4 separate regions of the Homo sapiens genome follow, and all the other regions are linked to region 3. The links are contacts of gene promoters, found by promoter capture Hi-C in blood cells and fetal thymus (Javierre and others, 2016). All regions are on one chromosome and are shown on one strand. Each heading gives the region's core, a stretch centred on a gene start or on the middle of the fragment in contact. The rest is flanking DNA. Distances are from core to core; before and after follow the strand shown.

Evidence for each region. Contacts are between HindIII fragments. The CHiCAGO score rates a contact against its expected background, and 5 or more counts as called.
Region 1: a contact is called between a fragment that was not itself captured here and the fragment with the promoter of NLGN3 in region 3, in 2 of 17 cell types (M2 macrophages and naive B cells). The highest score is 5.8, in M2 macrophages.
Region 2: a contact is called between a fragment that was not itself captured here and the fragment with the promoter of NLGN3 in region 3, in 1 of 17 cell types (M2 macrophages). The highest score is 5.2, in M2 macrophages.
Region 4: a contact is called between a fragment that was not itself captured here and the fragment with the promoter of NLGN3 in region 3, in 1 of 17 cell types (total B cells). The highest score is 6.1, in total B cells.

What each region holds. Positions count from the first base shown.
Region 1 is chrX:71,345,277-71,347,976 of GRCh38, forward strand. LOC124905198 (a long non-coding RNA gene) reads left to right here and starts at 2,688. Exons shown (of 3, transcript XR_007068263.1): 1 at 2,688-2,700. The HindIII fragment of the contact is 5,105 bases long and covers 1-2,700 here.
Region 2 is chrX:70,994,040-70,996,739 of GRCh38, forward strand. No RefSeq gene overlaps it. Among named protein-coding and RNA genes, the nearest start is that of SLC7A3, 64 kb to the left of the region's middle. The HindIII fragment of the contact is 8,810 bases long and covers 1-2,700 here.
Region 3 is chrX:71,143,484-71,146,183 of GRCh38, forward strand. NLGN3 (neuroligin 3) reads left to right here and starts at 1,358. Exons shown (of 8, transcript NM_181303.2): 1 at 1,358-1,481. It overlaps LOC124905197 (a long non-coding RNA gene), which reads right to left. Exons shown (of 4, transcript XR_007068262.1): 4 at 1-144. RefSeq lists a silencer at 2,174-2,429. The HindIII fragment of the contact is 4,718 bases long and covers 1,128-2,700 here.
Region 4 is chrX:71,390,871-71,393,570 of GRCh38, forward strand. It overlaps TAF1 (TATA-box binding protein associated factor 1), which reads left to right. Exons shown (of 38, transcript NM_004606.5): 19 at 1,699-1,848; 20 at 2,005-2,124; 21 at 2,431-2,606. Among named protein-coding and RNA genes, the nearest start is that of TAF1, 26 kb to the left of the region's middle. The HindIII fragment of the contact is 3,497 bases long and covers 1-2,700 here.

The DNA.
Region 1 (2,700 bases), core at 33-2,532, 200 kb after region 3:
TAGCACACTGTTCTTTGTTCTCTTTTTCCATTCTGATGCTAGAGTTTGATAGTAGGGGAGGTTGTGGGGTGCAGCACGGAATATATGGGAACTCTCTGTACTTTCCACTTGATTTTACTGTGAACTTAAAATTGCTCTAAAAAATAAAGTCTATTTTTGGTAGAAACAGGGTTTCATCGTGTTGCCCAGGCTAGTCTCAAACTCCTGAGCTCATGCAATCTGCCCACTTCAGCCTTGCAAAGTGCTGGAATTATTAGGCATGGGCCACTGTGCCCAACCTGGAAATATATTAATGTAAGGTTTGTTTTTTTTTTGAGGGAGTCTCGCTCTATTGCCCAGGCTGGAGTGCAGTGGCATGATCTCGGCTCACTGTAATCTCCACCTCCCAGGTTCAAGCGATTCTCCTGCCCCAGCCTCCCGAGTAGCTGGGACTACAGGCATGCACCACCACACCTGGCCAATTTTTGTATTTTTAGTAGAGATGGGGTTTTGCCATGTTGGCCAGGCTGGTCTCGCACTCCTGACCTCAGATGATCTGCCTGCCTCAGCCTACCAGTGTGCTGAGATTACAGGCGTGAGCAACCGCACCTGGCCTATTAATGTAAGGCTGTTACACTCTCTGTGAAATAGTATAATATTTGAAGGTAGATGGAGATAGGTTAAAAATGTCTCTATAAACCTGTAAGCAACCACTAAAACAAGGAGGAATAGCTAATAACCCAATATAGGAGATATAATGGAATAAAAGTAATATTGACTAATCCAAAAGAAGTCAGAAAAAGAGAACAAAGAGATGGGACGAATAAAAACAAGATGATAGACCCAAATCTAATTATATTAACAATCATTAAACTTAGATGTTCTTAACACCCTAATTACAGGGTAGAGATGATCAGATTGGGTAGAAAAGCAAGATTTGCCAGGTGCAGTGGTTCACACCTATAATTTCAGCACTTTGGGAGCTGAAGGCAGGTGTATTGCTTGAGCCCAGGAGTTCAAGACCAGCCTGGGCAACACAGAGACCTGTCTCTGCAAAAAGTAAAACTAGACAGGTGGCTGGGCACGGTGGCTCACGCCTGTAATCCTAGCACTTTGGGAGGCCGAGAAGAGCAGATCACCTGAGGTCAGGAATTTGAGACCAACCTGGCCAACATGGCGAAGCCCCCTCTCTACTAAAAATACAAACATTAGCCAGGTGTGGTGGCGCGTGCCTGTAGTCTCAGCTACTTAGGAGGCTGAGGCAGGAGAATCGCTTGAACCCGGGAGGTGGAGGTTGCAGTGAGCCGAGATTGCACCACTGCACTCCAGCCTGGATAACAGAGCGAGACTCTGTCTCAACAAAACAAAACAAAACATAACAAAACAAAACAGCAAAGACACAGGCCGCATGCATAATTCTAACACTTTGGGAGGCTGAGGTGGGCAGATCACTTGAGCCCAAGAGTTCGAGACCAGCCTGGGCAACATGGTGAAACCCTGTCTCTACAAAAAATACAAAAATTAGCTGGGCATGGTGGTGCTCGCCTGTAGTGGAGAGGCTGTGGTGGGAGGATCACCTGAGCCCAGGAGGTGGAGGCTGGGGTGAGCTGTGGTCATATCACTGCACTCCAGCCTAGGGACAGAGTGAGATTCTGTCTCAAAAAATAAATGAATAAAGAAATAAAATTAATTAAAAATTTTAAATTTATTTTAAAATTATAAAAACAATAAATAAAAATTAAAAATGTAATATACCAAAAACCACTGAATTGTAAATTTTAAATGGTGTATGAATTTATATCTCAGTAAAGCTGTACGATTCCATTTATATAAAACTCTTGGAAATTCAAACTAATGTACACTGATAGAAAGGAACTGTAATTCTCGCACTACCTCATTGTCTTTTTTTTTTTTTAAGATTATATTTGTTTTGGAGACTGGGCTCTCGCGATGTTGCCTAGGCTGGACTTGAACTCCTGGGCTCAAGCGATCCTCTCCCACTCAGCCTCCAGAGTAGCTGGGACTACAGGCGGGCACCACCACACTCGGTTTGTGTTTTTGTTTATCTTTTTAAGAATTATTTTATTAAAAAAAATTATTTTTTGGTTTGTTTGTTGAGACAGAGTTTCGTTCTTGTTGCCCAAGCTGGAGCGCAATGGTGCGATTTTGGCTCATTGCAAGTTCAAGTGATTCGCGTGCCTCAGTCTCCTGAGTAGCTGGGATTACAGGCATGCACCGCCACGCCTGGCTAATTTTGTATTTTTAGTACAGATGGGGTTTCACCATGTTGGTCAGGCTGGTCTCGAACTCCTGACCTCAGGTCATCGCACCTCTGTCTCCCAAAGTGTTGGGATTACAGGCGTGAGCCACCGCACCTGGCCTTTTTTTTTTTTTTTTTTTTTGAGATGGAGTTTTGCTCTTGTCACCCAGGCTGGAGTGCAATGGCATGATCTTGGCTCACTGCAACCTCGGCCTCCCGAGTTCAAGCGATTCTCCTGCCTCAGCCTCCCGAGCAGCTGGGATTATAGGCGCATGCCACTATACCCGGCTAATTTTTGTATTTTTAGTAGAGATGGGGTTTCATCATGTTGGTCAGGCTGGTCTCGAACTCCTGACCTCAGTTGATCCCCTCCCCCTCCCCCCATCGCCACCTCGGCCTCCCAAAGTGCTGAGATTACAGGCGTGAGCCATCGCGCCCACCCAAATTTTTTTTTTTTACCT
Region 2 (2,700 bases), core at 64-2,563, 150 kb before region 3:
TATACCCAGTTTCTTGAGGATTTTTATCATGAAGGGATGTTGAATTTTATTAAATGTTTTTTCAGCATCAGTTGAAATGATCATATGGTTTCTGTCCTTTGTTCTATTGGTATGACATATCTCATTGATTGATTTGCATACATTAAACCATCCTTGCATCCAGAGATAAATCCCACTTGGCCATGATGAATGATCTTTTAATGTGTTGTTGAATTCGATTTGCTAGTCTTTTTTTGTCTTTTTTTTTTTTTTAGTAGAGACAGGGTCTCACTATGTTGCCCAGTCTGGTCTCAAACTCCTGGCTTCAAGTAATCCTCCCACATTGGCCTCCCAAAGCACTGGGATTGACAGGCATGAGCCATTGCATCTGACTGGTTTGTTAGTATTTTCTTGAGGATTTTTTTTTTTTGAGATAAGATCTCACCCTGTTGCCCAGGCTGGAGTGCAGTGGCACGATCTCAACTCACTGCAACCTCTGCCTCCCAGGTTCAAGCAATTCTCATGGCTCAGCCTCCTGAGTAGCTGGGTTTACAGACGTGCAGCAACACGCCCAGCTAATTTTTGTATTTTTAGTAGAGATGGGGTTTCACCGTGTTGGCCGCGCTGGTCTCAAACTCCTGGCCTCATGTGATCCACCCGCCTCATCCTCCCAAAGTGCTGGGATTACAGGCGTGAGCCACCATGCCTGGCCTTCTTGAGAATTTTTACGTTAACGTTCATCAGGGATACTGGCCTGTAGTTTTCTTTTTCTGAAGTGTCTTTGTCTGGTTTTGGTATCAGGGTAATACTGGCCTTGTAGAGTGTGTTTGAAAATATTCCCTCCTCCTCTGTTATTCAGAATAGTTTGAATAGGATTGGTATTAGTTCTTCTTAAAATGTTTGGTAAAATTCAGCAGTGAAGCCATTGGGCCCCAGGATTATCTTTGCTGGGAGACTTAGTATTATAGCTTCGATCTCATTACTTGTTATTGGTGTGTTCAAGTTTTGGATTTCTTCATGGTTCAATCTTGGGAAGGTGTATATGTCTAGGAATTTATTCATTTCTTCAAGGTTTTCTAACTTATTGGCATATAGTTGCTCATAGTGGCCTCTAATGATCCTTTGAATTTCTGCAGTATCAGTTGTAAAGTCTCCCTTTTCATCTGTGATTTTATTTATTTGGATAATCTCTCTTCTGTTCTTAGTCTGACTAAAGGTTTGTCAATATTGTTTATCTTTTCCAAAAAATACACAACTTTTCATTTCATCAATCTTTTGTATTGTTTTATTTGTTTCAATTTCACTTATTTCTGCTCTGATCATTACTATCTATTTTCTTCTACTAATTTTGGGGTTGTTTTTTCTTGTTTTTCTAGTTTTTCTAGTTCTGTCTCATGCATCATTAGGTTCTATTCTTCAAATAAACCACCTAATGATGCATGTTAAAGAACTAGAAAAGTTCATTTAGGTTGTTTATCTCTTCAACTAGAACTAGGTTGAAGTTTTTTCTAGGTTGGTGCAAAAGTAATTGCGGTTTTTGCCATTGAAAGTGAAAACCATTACTTTTTGCCATTATGTTCAATGGCAAAAACCGCGATTACTTTTGCATCAACCTAATACTTTTTTGACGTAGGTGCTTATAGCTATAAACTTCCCTCTTAGTACTGCTTTCACTGCGTCCCATAGGTTTGGGTATGTTGTGCTTCCATTATCATTTGTTTCAAGAAATTTTTCAGTTTTCTTCTCATTTTTTTTATTGGCCTACTTGTCATTTAAGTGCATGGTGTTTAATTTCCATGTGTTTGTATAGTTTCCAAAATTCCTCTTGTTATTGATTTCTAGTTTTATTCCACTGTGGTCAGAGAATGTACTTGACATAATTTTTTTTTAATGTTTTAAGACTTGTTTTGTGGCCTAACATATAGTCTATCCTTGAGGATGATCCATTTGCTGATGAGAAGATGTGTATTCTGCAGCCATTGGATGAAATGTTCTGTAAATATCTTTTAGATCAGTTTGCAGATCTTAATCTATAGTGCAGATTAAGTCCAATGTTTCTTTGTTGGTTTTCTGTCCAGATGATCTGTCCAATGCTAAAAGTGAGGTGTTGAAGTCTACAGCTATTATTGTATTAGGTTCTGTCTCTTTCTTTAGCTCTAATAATATTCCTTTTGTATATCAGGGTGCTCTGGTGTTGGATGCATATGTATTTAAAATTGTTATATCCTCTTGCTGAATTTATCATTATATAATGACCTTCTTTGTCTCTTTATATATAATGACCTTCTTTGTCTCTTTATATATATTTATATTTATATTATATAATGACCTTCTTTGTCTCTTTATAGTTTTTGTCTTGAAATCTATTTTGTCTGACAGAAGTACAGCTACTCCTTCTCCTTTTTTATTTCCATTGGCATGGAATATCTTTTTCCATCCCTTTATTTTCAGTCTATGTGTGTCTTTATAGGGGAAGTGTGCTTCTTGTAGGCAACAGATCATTGGGTCTTGCTTTTTTTTTATCCATTCAGCCACTCTGTGTCTTTTGATTGGAGAGTTGAGTCCATTTACATTCAATGTTATTATTAAACTGATGACAACTTAACACTAATTGCATGAACAAACAAGGTAACTAACAAACAAGCAAAGAGAAAACTAATAAAAACTCTACACTTTAACCTCATCCTCCAGCCTTATAACTTTTTGTTGTTTCTATTTATA
Region 3 (2,700 bases), core at 108-2,607:
CATCTTGTGTGGTCCCCATCATGCACCAAGTGGCATACCTTTCATAGGACAGAGAACTTCCCTGAGAGTCACATTCCTGGATGAAAAATTGCCCTCCATTGGCATGTGCCATCATAGAATAGGTCGTGGAAGGACCGTTTGGTTCTAGGAGGAAGAGAGACCAGTAAAAATAAGCACCCTTTCTCTCTCTGCCCTACTGCCAGAACTGCCTGTTCTCACGTGACCCACCTTGGCAGTTACCCAGGATGACTTGCTCGCTCCCATTTTACAGTAGAGAAAACTCAAAACTGTTGCCCCAGAGTCACATTTGGAGCTGCGGCAGGGCCATTCTCGCCCTCTTGCTTTCCAGTTTGAGTTCTAGATCCAAGGCTGTCCAGGAGAGCCAACTGGTTTACTACAATGGAGTCTTGGAGTCTTCTGCCCTGCCTAGCTAGGGCTGGAAGAGGATCAGCCTCAGCCTTGTGAGTGGGTGGTACAGGATGATTTGACAACTTAAGGATAACATGCAAGCCATAGTTGCACCCTATTACTGGGAAGTGTCTAGTGTGCTGGCAAAACCAGGAGCACCAATCAGTACCCAAGTTATAAAAAATAAAATAGCCCTCTTTGAGGCCCACGAAGCCCTTGCTTATATGGGACTTACCAAGTTTAAGAGTTGCGTGCACAAGGAATGGAACTCCCCAACAGTGTAAAGGCAAACATGACTGAAGCTTTCTTCTCACTTATTCTATCCTGACATAAACATTCTGAGGAGCCACAGGAGTACAGGCTTGGCTGGGATGAGGGACATTCAGAGGGGCTTGGGGGTTGCTAAACAAATGGCAGGTGCGCCACATACAAAAACACAAGACACAAAGACACTGAACCTGGAGGGGAGAGACTGAAATGGTCAGACAACTGGCATGCTGACAGTCTGACATGCCCCAGCAGAAGCAGCAGAAGGGAACAGCATTGACCTTTGGGAGAGTGACAGGATGAGAGCAGAGTGGCCCCACTGGTTGCTGCTTGGGTAGTGCTGGCGCTGAGAAATAAGGGATGCTGATTGAGGTGGAGGTGTGTTTTTGTGTAGTATGACTGAGGGTTCCTGCAGGCAGTGCCTCAGTTTCTCCCTTTGGGACAAAGTCTCAAGCTTTGCGGGTAAAGTTTGGGCTAGCTGCCCTGGAAGATCACCTGTCTGATAGCTTGCAATCTGAGGTGTGTGTGCGCGCCCGCGTGAGAGAGAGGGAGCGGAACGTGCCTGAGCATGGGGGGAATTGGGCCATGCCCCAGGACTTGAGCCATCTCTGGCACAAAAGGAGTTAATGGCAGGGACCGCGCCCCCCCGTGTCCGGGAACGCGCAGCGCGCCCCCTCGGTGCGCGGGCACAGCAGCCAGGCTGCCGGAGAGCTGATCTCGGGGATTCGGGTGCGGAGCCCTTGGCCTGGAGGCGATATGGGTGGTCCGTGGCCCGGTTCAGTCGCTTGCAGCAGCCCGGGGAACAGGTGAGGCCGCCTGCCCCGGTCTCTCATCCTCTAGCTGCCCATACCTTGCCCCCATCCTAACCCCTCCCAATCCCAGGCTCCTCCACTCCCCAGCCAGTGGCCCCCATCCCTCTCAACCCCATGTTCTCCATCGGTACCCCTGACCCCCGATCCTCCCCCGCTTCTGTTCTCCCTTCTACCTCCTCCCTAAATCCCGCATCCCTAACATCCTCCCGCCCATGGTCCCTCTATTTCCACAGCCCATCCCGCATGCTCATCAAAATACCCCTATTGAGGGCCCCCAGCCCCATCCCGGGATTGCACATTGCCAGTCCCCCCTCCCCTGCAGTGCAGCCCCATCCCCCTTCCATCATAGCATCTCATAGCCAGGCTCCCTCCCCCACTATCTGCAGCCCCCCCACCCAATGGAGGCCTTTATCCTATCCTCCCCCATTCCAGTGCAACTCCATCCCCCAATCCATTCCAAGCCCTCGTAGCCCCCAATACTGCAGTTCTCAATATTGGTCCATTCCTGCACAATGCCCCGCGCCCAGCACCGCTGCAGCCCCAAAAGTACCCCGAGATGCCATTCTCATCCCCGGCATTGCTGCCTCCCCTTGTCTTCTCCCAAATTGCAAGTTGGACCAGGATGGAGATCTTGGCCTTGGGGATTCACAGTGGGTCCTAGGGTACAGAGGGCGTTTGGGGGTCGGTCCGATTGTCTAGGTGTTCACGGGGGAGGGGCTGCAGGGAATTGACTCAAAGGAGAATTTGGCATTTGGCGCCGAAGGGTTACTGGAGAGGAGGGCATCCCGAAAGGGTTAATGGAATTTGTGGGTTGGGGGCAGCACCGAGGGGGTTAATGTGGGGGGGTTGCTGGTGGGGAAGCTGTGTGAATGAGCGGTCTGTGCCCTGGAGTTGCCATGGAGACGGTGAATGGGGGGATTGTGTGAACTCAGCTGCGGACTATGCCCCCCCCAATACACACACCCACCCACTCCCTCCTGCCCCACCTCCCTACTCCTACCCCTTCCTTCCCCTTCCCCTCCTCCCCACACCCGGGTGCATTCTGGGCAGTGTCTGGGATCTTACCCCCCATACTTTGCTCCCCATTTCCTCATTTCCTCTGAGCCCCCACCCCTTTAGCCACTTTACCCGCCCTCCCTCCTCTTCCTTTTTCTTCTCTCTCTCTCTCTCTCTCTCTCTCTCTCACACACACACACACACAGACACACACACA
Region 4 (2,700 bases), core at 64-2,563, 250 kb after region 3:
TGTAATCCCAGCTACTTGGGAGGCTGAGGCAGGAGAATCACTTGAACCTGGGAGGTGGAGGTTGCCGGGAGCTGAGACCACGCCATTGTAGTCCAGCCTGGACTAAAAGAACGAATCTCCATCTCAAAAAAAAAAAAGAAAGAAAGAAATGGGATCTTACTGTGTTGCCCAGGCTGATTTTGAACTCCTAGGCTCAAACGATCGTCCTGCCTTGGCCTTCTAAAGTGTTGGGATGATAGGCATGAACCACTGTGCCTGGCCTCTACTTTCTTCCCGTGGCACTGATCACATAGTACTGAACTTGGTTGGCTGTTTTTCCCTCACTAACTTGAGGTTCATGAAAAAGTAGTATGGAGGAGTAGTGTGTAGTTGGTATTCAATAAATATTTGTTAAATGAATTAAGTGATTATAAAATGAAGCAGAAAATGAGGCCACACAGAGTGAGTAAAGAATCGTTGTACTACTCTCTTGAGGTTGGAATGAAAAATGAGTGGATATCTAAGAATTTCAGAAATTAAGAATTCTTTTGAGGCCAGGCGCAGTGGCTCAGGCCTGTAATCATAGCATTTGGGGAGGCCAAGGTGGGAGGGTTACTTGAGGCCAAGGGTTCAAGACCAACCTGGCCAACATAGTGAGACCCTGTCTCTAAAAAAGAAAAACAATTTTTTTTAAATTAAAAATAAAAAAAGAATTCTGTTGAATGGCTTTCCAGATTGAACCTTAGAGAATGGCCATTTTCTTGCTAATCATATATACTCTTTTTTTTTTTTTTTTTGAGACAGAGTCTCACTCTGTCTCCCAGGCTGGAGTGCAGTGGTGCAGTCTGCTGACTGCAACCTCTGCCTGCTGGGTTCAAGCCATTCTCGTGCCTCAGCCTTCTGAGTAGCTGGGACTATAGGTGTGCGCCACCACGCCTGGCTAATTTTTGTACTTTTAGTAGAGATGGGGTTTCACCATGTTGGCCAGGCTGGTCTTGAACTCCTGGCCTCAAGAGATCTGCCCGCCTCAGCCTCCCAGAGTGTTGGGATTACAGGTGTGAGTCACCACACCTGGCCTCATGTACTCCTGACTGGTCTGTGTGGGCAGGCACATTCACCCCTTGGCTTAATTCTTTAAGAATCTTGCAGGGGTTGGTAAACACTATTCAGGGTCCCAGGAGAGGACAGACCTTTTTGACCAAACCAGTGGCAGAAATAGAATGGACTTTGGTTTAGTGTCACTGGAAAAGGGGCCAATGCTTTGAAAGCAAGCATGTCAAGTATTTCGAGAAAATAGGTTTCATTCTAAAACAGCTGTTTGAGCAATTGGACAATCAAATGTAGTCATTAGTCTAATTTTGAGCATCATGAGGGTGAGGGAAACACTGTCCTTAAGAATGTTTATTGAAGCCCAAGGGATAAGGGGCTGAAGGGATACCACTGTTCTTTATTTTTCTCCTTATCCTGCCTGAGCTCTTGACCTCTATTTAATATCATGTTGTAAGTATTGTACCATAGGATAGAAGAGAACTGAGTACTAGGTAGCTATATTTAACTGTTGATTTTTGTGGACAGTTTAAGAGAGCATGAACCCACAGAAATTAAAAATTAGAAAAAAAGAACATGAAAATAGTTTGTAATTATTCTACTCTTGTAGATATTGGCTAGACATAGAACAAATGTTTCCCACTGCCCTGAGAATCTTTTTCTTTATCTCAGGTTCGCACTGCCCCTTGGAACACCACAAGGGCCTTCATTGCTGCCATGAAGGGCAAGTGTCTGCTAGAGGTGACTGGGGTGGCAGATCCCACGGGGTGTGGTGAAGGATTCTCCTATGTGAAGATTCCAAACAAACCAACACAGCAGAAGGTGAGATTGTGTTTATTTCTAGAATGAAAAAGTCAAGGGAGAAAGAAATGGGTGAGTGGAGGACTTGGAATGTAGTTAAGGTAGCAGAATGACTTAGATGCCTACTTAAAAGGAATTCAGGTTTTTAGGAGTCTCACTTTTTTTTGTTTGAGGTAGGATGATAAAGAACCGCAGCCAGTGAAGAAGACAGTGACAGGAACAGATGCAGACCTTCGTCGCCTTTCCCTGAAAAATGCCAAGCAACTTCTACGTAAATTTGGTGTGCCTGAGGAAGAGGTGAGTGTGGAAGTGGAAAATTTAGAGTATACTAGGGGCTTTGTATAGAGTTGGAATTGCTAGGAGGCAGATGTAAAGAACTATCTGGGGAACTTTATTGTAGGGTATAGTAAGCTAAGTCTTAGATATTGTTTTAGGAGTTATCTTTCTATGTAATCTGCTTTGGGGTGATTTTTCTTTTTTGGTCTAACTGTGTACATTGGCTTGTCCTTTGAAATCCCTGAATGATTTGTGTGTGTGTGTGTGTGTGTGTGTGTGTGTGTGTGTGTGTATATTTATATTTGTGTGTGGCTATTTGTCTCGTAGATTAAAAAGTTGTCCCGCTGGGAAGTGATTGATGTGGTGCGCACAATGTCAACAGAACAGGCTCGTTCTGGAGAGGGGCCCATGAGTAAATTTGCCCGTGGATCAAGGTTTTCTGTGGCTGAGCATCAAGAGCGTTACAAAGAGGAATGTCAGCGCATCTTTGACCTACAGAACAAGTGGGTCGTTTTAGTGCTGCAGAAAATCCAAGCTGGAAAGGGGGAGGAGTTCCAGGCACTATTTCATAATAAAGAGGAGGTCACCTAAAAGTTT